Linked DNA regions of Homo sapiens: region 2 is linked to region 1. The links are contacts of gene promoters, found by promoter capture Hi-C in blood cells and fetal thymus (Javierre and others, 2016). All regions are on one chromosome and are shown on one strand. Each heading gives the region's core, a stretch centred on a gene start or on the middle of the fragment in contact. The rest is flanking DNA. Distances are from core to core; before and after follow the strand shown.

What was found. Contacts are between HindIII fragments. The CHiCAGO score rates a contact against its expected background, and 5 or more counts as called.
Region 2: a contact is called between a fragment that was not itself captured here and the fragment with the promoter of PRKRA in region 1, in 1 of 17 cell types (fetal thymus). The highest score is 6.0, in fetal thymus.

The regions. Positions count from the first base shown.
Region 1 is chr2:178,447,418-178,452,619 of GRCh38, reverse strand. It overlaps PRKRA (protein activator of interferon induced protein kinase EIF2AK2), which reads left to right and starts at 1,445. Exons shown (of 8, transcript NM_003690.5): 1 at 1,445-1,654; 2 at 2,209-2,378; 3 at 5,034-5,115. The coding sequence starts at 1,590. It overlaps PJVK (pejvakin), which reads right to left and starts at 1,242. Exons shown (of 7, transcript NM_001042702.5): 1 at 851-1,242. RefSeq lists a silencer at 1,173-1,952 and an enhancer at 1,715-2,289. The HindIII fragment of the contact is 1,572 bases long and covers 1,013-2,584 here.
Region 2 is chr2:152,710,452-152,715,807 of GRCh38, reverse strand. All of the region lies in intron 2 of PRPF40A (pre-mRNA processing factor 40A), which reads left to right. Among named protein-coding and RNA genes, the nearest start is that of PRPF40A, 4.3 kb to the left of the region's middle. The HindIII fragment of the contact is 1,843 bases long and covers 735-2,577 here.

The DNA.
Region 1 (5,202 bases), core at 196-2,695:
AAAGTTCTGGCCTGTTTTTAAGTAATTTTGTGGCAAAAAATGAATTTTACCTGAGTGCTGAAATGTTTTGCCATAGGTGTTATGCGGAGTTCATATATTGTGAAATACTGACTATGTAGCCCTTCCAATAAGATATCCATTAAAACAGTGATGGATAGTAATCTATATACATACATATATAGACGGAGAGGAAGAGAGAATAGGCTCTAATTAAAGCATCAGATGATATAATTTGATTAGATTCTGAACATCTTTCACTTGTTTCAAGCATCCAGGGCTTACATGCTAACAAAACAACAAATCGCTTTTTTTTTTTTTTTTTTTTTTGAGAGGGAGTCTGACTCTGTCGCCCAGGCTGGAGTGCAGTGGCGCGATCTCGGCTCACTGCAACATTTGCCTCCCGGGTTCAAGCGATTCTCCTGCTTTAGCCTCCCGAGTAGCTGGGATTACAGGCGCATGCCACCACGCCCGGCTAATTTTTGTATTTTTAGTAGAGACAGGGTTTCACCATGTTGGCCAGGCTGGTCTCGAACTGCTTACTTCAGGCGATCCGCCAGCCTCGGCCTCCTAAAGTGCTGGGATTACAGGCGTGAGCCACCGCGCCCGCCCATAAATCACTTTTAATAATATCCTTTCGTACGAATAGCATTGTGCAAGCAATCTTCCATAACACCGAGTAAGCACAGGGGAGCATTTCTGCTAGTGCCTAGCAAGCCCCTGGAGAAGCGACACGTCATCTAATGGCCCACCAAAGGTGCTGCATCCCAGGCAAACGCCATTACAACCGACTACCCAGGTCCCCGGAAAGGCCTTCGTTTACTCCTAACGTGTTTTGCTGGGATGCACTGACCCAGCGTTCCATCTCGCGACGAAAGCCCAGAAGACAAAGGAGCCCGCCCGGCGGGAGAGGAGCGGGTGTTTGGACGTCCCCGCGTGTTCCTAAACACAGGGCTCGGGGACCCGAAGAGCGCACCGCAGCCCCCTGGAGCGTATATATCCGGGGTCTCAAGCTTCAGGACCAGGCCCGGGAGACTCCCTGGAATTCTGCCTTCGTAATTTTAGAATCTTTTTCTTAAAGTGACCCAGCCCCCAATCCGTCCTCCCCACAAAGGCTTAACTTTAGGCCTCAACGACCCTAGACCCACGCCGGACAATCCCTCTAATCCCTCTCTCCCGGCAAGAAACGGCCTCCTGCTAAGGACAAAGAACTGCGGCCTAGGGGCCAGTTACTACAGGCTGGTCAGGGCCGGCAGGGGCGGGCGCGGAGAACCCCCGGGAGCCCAATGCCTGTGCCCACGCGGGAGCGGGGCGGAGCCGGGCGGGAAGGGGGCGGACCCTGGAAGGGACAGGGGCGGAGTTGGGCCGGGACGGAGGCCCGCAGAGGAGCAGCGAGGGGGCGTAGCCGGAGCTACGGCACCAAGGCTCCGCCCCCACCCTGCCTGCCCCCTCGCTGGAGCAACGCAAGCAGGAGGCGGGGGAGTCGGAGGAGGTGGCGGCGCTGGAGCTCCTCCCGGGGACCAGCGACCCGGGGAGCGAGCACGTCGCTCCGCACCGCTCTTCCTCCAGCCGCTGAGCCGTCCCTTCTCGCCATGTCCCAGAGCAGGCACCGCGCCGAGGCCCCGCCGCTGGAGCGCGAGGACAGTGGGACCTTCAGGTCAGCGTGCGGGCAGTCAGGGCCCCAGGGCCGGGAGCGTTGGGCGGCAGGGCCGGGGCGCGGGGAGCCGGCCCTCCAGAGGCATTCTGGGTAAAGCCGTGCCCGGCGCCCACGCCTCCGCGGCTGTGGGTGCTCGGCCCCGCCCTCTCGGCGGCGAGGGTTGGGGTCTGCGGCCGGGCCCCGCCCCTCTCGTGGTCCCTGGCGGCGCGCGGGGCGGGCGGAGGTGACGCTCGGTCGGCGCGCCCGGGAAGGGATCGTCAGGTTTTCCCTGAGAGGCTGCGGCGCTGCTGCCAGCCCTGTTCTGTTGAGAATCTCTCCTACCCGCATTCAAGTGCTCTCTCTAAAGACCTCGCTCACCCCGCCTGCTCCTGCGGAGTGACTGCCGCAGCGGGGCCGGAAGACAGGTGCGCCCCAGCCTCGCCAGCTCTGGCCCTGGCCTCCGGGGAACTCGGCGCCTCCCTCGTCACCGTCGGTGGCGGTTAAAACTGGCCTCTACGCTTCTGCTTCAATCTCCAATTTGGCATGCAAAGCACACCTTTTTGTGGTTTTTGCAGTTTGGGGAAGATGATAACAGCTAAGCCAGGGAAAACACCGATTCAGGTATTACACGAATACGGCATGAAGACCAAGAACATCCCAGTTTATGAATGTGAAAGATCTGATGTGCAAATACACGTGCCCACTTTCACCTTCAGAGTAACCGTTGGTGACATAACCTGCACAGGTCTGTATACACAGTTAACCTGGATGACCGAGTGGGTTGGCAGTCAATACTTGGTGTTGCTTTTCAGTTCGGAAAAGTTCTCTTTTTGCCAGACAGCTGTGAGGAACAGGCTCTGAAACTGAGACCTCTCATCTCAGGTCGTTAGGGCTTTTCAGCTGCATCTGATTCTCTTCCTAATTTTCTCTTCCCCACATACCAAGGAAGCTTAGAAACTAAAAAGTTACCCAGCCGGATGGCTGGATCCTGCATGGCTCTTCTCATACCCTAGGATCCTCCTAGGGTTCTTCTTAGAATTAGAGGGAAGCAGGAAAGGTTCTTGGAGCAGTCATAGCTGGGTCAGTAGGTACTGTGAAGTTTCATAGATTATAGCGGATGCCAGGAGGCATGACCCCAGAATTTTCTGAGCGTCTCTCCTCTCTGTATGGACTCATTTGGCACTTTAGGTCCATTGTGCTACTTTTGATTCTGTATCCAAACAAAATGAGGAAGGGGAGAAGGTCCTCATATATTACATAATAACTTCTAGTTTTTGAAACTGAACAGATATTTTGTATATTATCCACTTTTTAAACAAGAAGAAACAGGTTCAGAGAGATTATAAGTAACATGCGTATAGCAATGAAGTCACAAAGCAATGAAATTTTAAAGTTCATGCTTTCTTTTGGTCTGTGAGCTTGAGCAAATGATAACTAAAGTTGCTCATTTGTAAATGTGGACATTATTTTTCTTATGTATCTATTTAATTGCAAACACAGAAAACATTGGATGCTAAATTTAATTTGGAAGAATGCCAAGAAAAAAATTTAGTAGGAAGGCTCAAGTTCTACCATCTGGAAAATCTGAAGACAGCATTTGTTTGTGTCCCTGGAAGTTTGGAGTCTTTTATTTTAATTGATGCCACTTTAAGAAAAGTTTAAAACTTTTTGTGTGAGGCAGTTAGATTGTAGGTGCTGGCCGGAAGGGTCCCCATGGGAACCATAGAGTCAACACTGCATTACTTACTTTAGCTAGTCTATTTCTAGATAGGAAGAATTCAAGAAAAGGGAGGGTTTTTCCCTCTCAATGTGTTTTAGACCCCAAATTAACAACCTATGGCAACCGTTCTGCCTACGCCCTCTTCTCACACTACCATGGCTTCCTGTGCAAGCTTATCTGCCTCCATGGCTTCTGATACTGTCTAAAGACTAATATTCTGAAATGTCTGTCTACATCCCAAGCCCAGTTACAGAATAGTGTATCAGTCTGTGCTTGCTGAGCATCTTTGCCTGGATGACACAGAGGCCCCTCAAGCCTCTCATTGTCCCAAACTGAATCCATCTTTTCCCTCAAACCCATTCTTCTTGCATTCCCTTTCTATGTAAAGGCTCCACAATCACCTAGTTCAGTAGAAATGTAGGCTTTTGTCTTCCTAACTACTTCCCGTCTTTCTCCCTCTTGTCCAGTCTGTTATTAAACTCTATCCATTGGCGTTTAATAATCCACTAACTATCCATTGAATCTGTCGGCTTCTCTCTTCTGGCCATTGCTACTGCCTAGGCCACCATCATCTCTCACTTGGATTGTAGCTGCAGTCTTGTAGCTACACGTTTACCTTCTAGTCTTGTGATGTCCTTTTGTCACATTACAACCAGTGTTCATTCTTTTTTTTTTGAGACAGGGTCTCACTCTGTCACCCAGGCTAGAGTGCAGTGGCATGATCTTGGCTCACTGCAACCTCCGCTACAGCCTGCACTTAGGCTTGTTGTAACATATCCCATTCCATACTTCAGGTGCCTATTAACAGACAAAAATCCCACACTACTCTGTTGGCTCTTGAGGGCAGGGACCCTGTATGCTATATCCCTAATACCTGTGTTAGCAGATAAATATATGGTTTCTGTGTCTTCTTACACTTGAGGGCCACACTTGAAGGCCACACTTGAAACTTATTCCATGAGGGTATGGGAGTTTGAACTTAAAAGGAAAAAGATGGAATTTATCATTTGCCATTGTGATTGCTTACTGAAATTAGACATCAGTCTTATCCCCAGTCCCAACTTAGCTACCCATGCAGAAGATACAGACCGTCCAGAAGATACATAACAAGCTGTCACCTTATTCCATAAAACTCTTTCCTGTTGTACCCAACACATAATCATGACTGCTCAGCCTAGCAAAGCAGTTTGATACGTTATAGGACAGGCTGTCAGAATAAAATTATGCACATTTTGCTATCAAACAATTCTGCTGTAAATGGTTCCTTTAAAAGAAACTTCTTGCTGCAGAAGAATTTCCCCTCCAGGAATAAAGGAAGAGTAAAATACTAATCTGCATTTCTTCAGAGGTGTGACACGGTCTACTTTATTACCATGTTATATAATAAACATATATAATGTAGAAATAAGGATTTTTATGCAGGTATGCATAGAATTATATAGAACTTTAAAAAGTTATTTTTTAAAATTTTTTCACATGGTGAATATTTTATTACAGTATATAACCATGTAGTATATAACATGTACATATTTTTATGTACAGTATATAACGTACATATTTTTATTACCTAGTATGTGTATGTAAAATCTATAGTGACTTTGTTTTGTGTATTGAAAACATCTTTGTAAGCTGCACATTTTTGTGGGAGATAAAGACTTCTTTTTTTAAATCTTAATTCAGGTGAAGGTACAAGTAAGAAGCTGGCGAAACATAGAGCTGCAGAGGCTGCCATAAACATTTTGAAAGCCAATGCAAGTATTTGGTGAGCTAAATTTCTTTGTATTCAGCAGCTCAAAAATATCATGGCTGAGGTAAGATTAAAAATTTGAACATGCTTACAAAAGCAACA
Region 2 (5,356 bases), core at 407-2,906, about 26 Mb after region 1:
AGAAATTTAAATAATGAAAAAGTCTTCTGAGAAATTTACTGATGACCTCAAAACTAAGAATTTTTTTCTTTATTATTTAAAAGTAAAGTGTGGATCCAGGCTTTTATTTTTAATGATTATTTTTTCAAGAATGCCAATTGAAGTTGATGGTCTAAGTAAATATTATCTGATACAGCAACATAACTGATTTTGGTAGACCATGTAAATAAATAGAATCTGAAAATAGCTATTGTTTTGGTTTAGAGCGAATTTTATTCCTGAAATATCTTCCTCTTTGTGTGTTGGAGGAGGGTGAGGGAGGGTGGGGAGTTTGTGCTCTATAATTCTGATTCTTCATAGGACAGTGCCAATAGGTAGTTCATTTTCCACTTATACTATTTTTTTTTAATGCTTGTTGCTTCTACACTCCTGCTTATGAGCTGTCCCTTCCATCTCTAGCATAAATTGTAAATGGACATTTTGTAGGAGTGATTTGGATCAAAAGGTTTTAATGCTGATTCAGTGATTTCGGTAGAACTGAGTTTCTAGAGAAGCATCCAAGAAAGGTAACAGGTTCAGTTACCATGAGTAATTTTGTGCTTCATGTTAAGTTCTATAATAGATCTTTAGGTGGCTGGGTTATTTCCATTTGAGTATTTCCATAAATCATCAAAAATTTAGGCTAACAAAATATTTTGGAAGCCAATTTCATGTGATCTTTTGCTAATTAGTACTGTTTGATAATTGTTTAAGCTTTCATGGTTAAAGTTATTGGTGAAATTGCAGTGGGAAAAGGAGCTTGCTATGTGTCTGTCTCTTTTTACTTAACCTTAAGAGTAGAAGGGCTTAATGTCCAGTGATTTTCCTCTTTTTTTTTTTAATTTGGAATATTGCCCTTAATTTTGTTAAAAAACAAAACAAAACCTTTATTCAAAGGCACCAGCCCCAAAAGATTCTGCTTGCAGGAGTTCTTTAAATAAAAGAGCCTTTTATTCTGTTACTCTAGAATAACACAAATTTTAAAACTCTCTAGGTGATGGAGAAACAACTTTGATTCCTCTTCTGTTTCTTTCCATCTCTAAGGAGCAAGGAGCTCTTCTTGTTTTCTTGGTAGAGCTGCTCTAACTAGATAATGAGCTTTAAAAATATTTATTCTTTAAATGCTCTGGTTCTTATTTAAAATTAGTTTCTTTCCACAGAAAGATAAAATAAAACAATTTGCTACTGCCAGATGCTTCTCTCTTTTCTGGGGCCTTCTGTTTCCATTGGGCCAATCAAGGTAAGTTTTGCAAGGGATTGACCTGCTTACCCTTGCTGTAATGGTGCTATTGCACTACCAAAACCAAGATACCAGCTAGTCATAGTTCTAGTTAAAAAAAAAAATGCAGATTTTATTTTTTAAAAGTACTTTCATGTATCTCATTGACATAAGCTGGTCACAGTTTGCTTTATGGCCCTTTCTCTTTAGCTGTATCAGTGACCATCTTTCTAGTAAGTTTACTTGCTACTCGGTACACATCCATTCAAATAACTGATTTTTTTGGTGTGGTTTTCTTCTACTTTTTCCTAGGCTAATATATGCCACGTGCCTTTAAGTAGACCTAATTATTTAGATGTTTAGAATTCTTCTCCCTCTGAAGGCTCCTGTTAGTATAATAAATAAATGTTTTAGTAGGAGTTATGCCCTGAAAGTCCCAAAAGAATCTCCGCTGTTTTTGTCAGAATTATATAATTCCCTTTTATCCCCTTAATATTTCACTAACAAATATGGGTCCCAAATCTTGGTAAAACAAATTCTTGTTTTAGCTTTATAACAGACTGGGAGAGCATGGATAATTTGAATTCTCAAATCAGAAATCATATTTGAAACTCTGTAAACATTGCTTTAAAAATTAAAGGTGATAATAAATAGGACAATTGATCCTTTTTCCTGCATTATTTCTTCTGCCACTCTTGGAAGTACTCAGGAGGAATAAGTGGTCAGAAGATAATTGAGAAGAAGCAGGATGTCTGTCTGTATCATTCACAGTAGTGACAGTTGGGAGGGTTCTGCCATGCAATTTAAAAAAGTCAGTTCACAAATTCTTTAGACTTTGGGACTGAAGGTTATAAAAACCTTCATGTGTTGACTGGTTTGCATGAACATCTCATGCTGGGACTAGCTAAAGACTAAAATTGGTGGCAGTCTTACTTGCCAAATAATTGTGGTCTTTGGAATGTTACCAATATGACATGAAACTGTAAAACTTGTTTGTAAAATAATATGCAGACTGGGTAGCATAATGATGTACGGAAGCCAGGGTTCATAATTTCTCAAATGCATCAAGCTATTTAGCTTAAAGAAGTGGTGTGTTCAAATTTTTTTTTTCTTAATTCATGAGATGACCTAGAGTGCCATCTCATGCATTTAGGCTGACTCTTAGTAGTAATAAATATTTGATGATTATCAAATTGAGCTTAATATTCTTTCAGGTTTATTTCAGTTTTCTATCTTGTAGATTAAATTTGCCTCTTATTCTATATAACTTTATAGGAAAGTCATACTTTTAGAGTTATAGGATCTTATAGCTGAAAGGGACCTTACAGGTTGTTTAAGCTTTAAATAATATGTGATTTAAGATGCTTTGAGGATCACTGGTTAAATGTTAGTAAAGAAAGATAAAGAATTTTCCCTGCTGGATGGCAGTACTCAAAAATTTCCCATTGGGAGGCTGAGGCGGGTGCATCGCTTGAGCTCAGGAGTTGGAGACCAGCCTGGGCAACATGGTGAAACCCCATCTCTACAAAAACTATTTAAAAATAAGCTGGGTGTGGTGGTGTGCGTCTGTCGTCCCAGCTACTTAGGGGGCTGAGGCAGAAGGATTGCTTGAACCTGGGAGGTCGAGGCTGCAGTGAGTCAAGATCACGCCTTGCACTCCATCCTGGGTGACAAAGTGAGACCCTATCTCAAAAAAATAAAGATTTTCTGTAGAGATTTCTATCAATAAAATTATGTGTGAGGCTGTCTTCTTCCTCAGTGTCCATAGTAAATACTGTTTTCATGTCTTTTGTGTTTTCTACACAAAGGACATGCAGGTCCTGCCATCTTTATCACAGATGATTATGCCTTTGCCCCAGAGTCATGCTAGCTGGCTCTTTTTTTTTCCTCCCTATTTGAGTCTTTATTTTCCTCTATCAGTGAGAAGAGTAGAGTAATTGAGTTAAGGTCCCTTTCAGCTCTAACATCCTATGATTCAGTTCAGATCATTTGATAAGAGTAGATATCAGATTTTATGGGATGATATGGAAAGAACAGAAAATTCCTTTAGTAATGCCTCCCTAATTCTATTTATTCAGTGCTTTTTTTTTTTGGTCTTTGGTCAGTAAACTGATAAATGAATAATTGCTTTTTACAAATGAGTTTGATTTTCTTGCTCCTATATTGAGTAAGGCTGGCTCTAATAGATCTTATTTTATTTCAGTTCCTGCTACCACATGAGCCCAAGTCGTCACTCTCCCATGCCTAGGTTATTCAACAGTTTTTGAGTTGAGTTGGTTTTCTTGCTTCAAGGATGCCCCCCTGCCCCCACAAATTTTAGATTTCAATGTGTTATCTCCTTGCCCAAGAATCTCCAGTACTTTCAGTGCCTATAACATAGTATCTAAATTCCACAGCTTAACTTTAAAGAACCTCCCCATAGTACATGTCAAAGCAGGATTCAAGGCTGCATGTCTTTACACTCCCTAATTTGAACTTAGGCTGGTCTTTTCACGGTGTCTTGAGTGATTATATTAGTTCACAACTTCAAACTTAGGCTGTTCTTCTTACCCTCCTGCCCCCAGCTCAGTATCACCATGAAGTTTGCTTTGCTTACCTATGTTGTACTATTTCAAGTCCTGCCTTCTCCAAAAGTTTCTCAAAAATGACTTTTGCCAACATATACCTCCCCTTCAGATTATTAAAGAAAATATTTGTAATCTACCCATAACTCTTACCGTTTCACTTATTTTGGCACCTAGTTATTGACTTGTTTTATGGTTTCTTAATTTGCTTTAATTTTCCAACAAGTAATAGATTGTAAGCTCTTAGAGGGCAGGGGCTATGTTCTGTACTTTTTAAGAAGCCTATAGGTGCTGAGCACAGTTCTTGGCACATCATGGGTGCTCAGTAAAATACTTGTTGAATGAATGAAACAAATACACAGGTATTCTTTCCTGCAGTATAAGCCCATAAGTCAGTCAGTGTTAAATGTGACTGTTTCCAGTGGTTACTTGTGACTTTACGTTGTTACTACTTATTCTTGTTTTTAGTGTCTGCCTCTTTACTCTTACTTTTTCATTTGACAAAAATGGAAGATAAATAAGATGAAATAAATAATTTTTGTTTGGAGAATAAAACTAAAATATTTCCATTTGCAGTCGACCCTCTGTATCCAGAGATTCAAGCAACTGCGATGGAAAATAGTCTTTAAAAAAGCAACAACAAAAAAATACAAATTTTTAAAAATAAAGTATAATAACTTTTATAGCATTTACATTGTGTAAGGTATTATAAGTAATGTAGAGGTAATGTAGAGGAAAAAATAACAAAGTAGGATATAGGCCTTGCAGAGAAATTTAGTGTATTGGTACCTTAGACTTACCTGACTGATTTGACAAATTTATTTGTTGCTGTTCCTTCTGAATTACCCTTCCTTTTGAGTAGCTACAGGATCCATGCCATTGAATTGGGCATTAGCCAGTGACAAAAAAGAGATAGAATTTTTGTTTTTTAGGTCATCTGCTCATAATTCTTGAATCTGGGTAACTTCTGGGTACATGTGGATGACTCAAGCAAGTACTTTTAAAAAATATCTTAACTCAGACCTAATGTCTGTAAATTCTTGACTCAATGTGGTTAGATTTTTGACAAATGTTAATAGTGAGACTACAAATACGTTTATTTTCATTATCTTTAGATAGCAGTTCATTTAAATATGAGCTCATCTATTCACAAACTTAGTGTGGAAAGATCTAAGGAGGACCACATCAGTTGAGAAGAATGACCGGCATCCCCTGCTCCCCTTTTGAAATTCACAAGGCATAATATTTACTAAAGTGATGAGAAGTCTTGCAGAAGCCTTTTACAATTTTTACTTAGTATTTCTGTCTTATTTGACCATCTCCCCCATAAATCTCCCACATAAAGCATTTGTTTTGCTTTGTGTAGCACATTGTATGAAATTAGCATTTTGTGAGAAATGCTGAATTAGGGCCCTTTATTCTTTTAGTTTGCTCTTTAGGAGAAAAAGGCAACATCAAAATAAGTTAGTGTTAACACACATATGCATAAACGAAACAGCTTGTGTAGTGCAATGAATGTATTCATTAGATAGTGGATCAAAAGAGGAAACAAGTC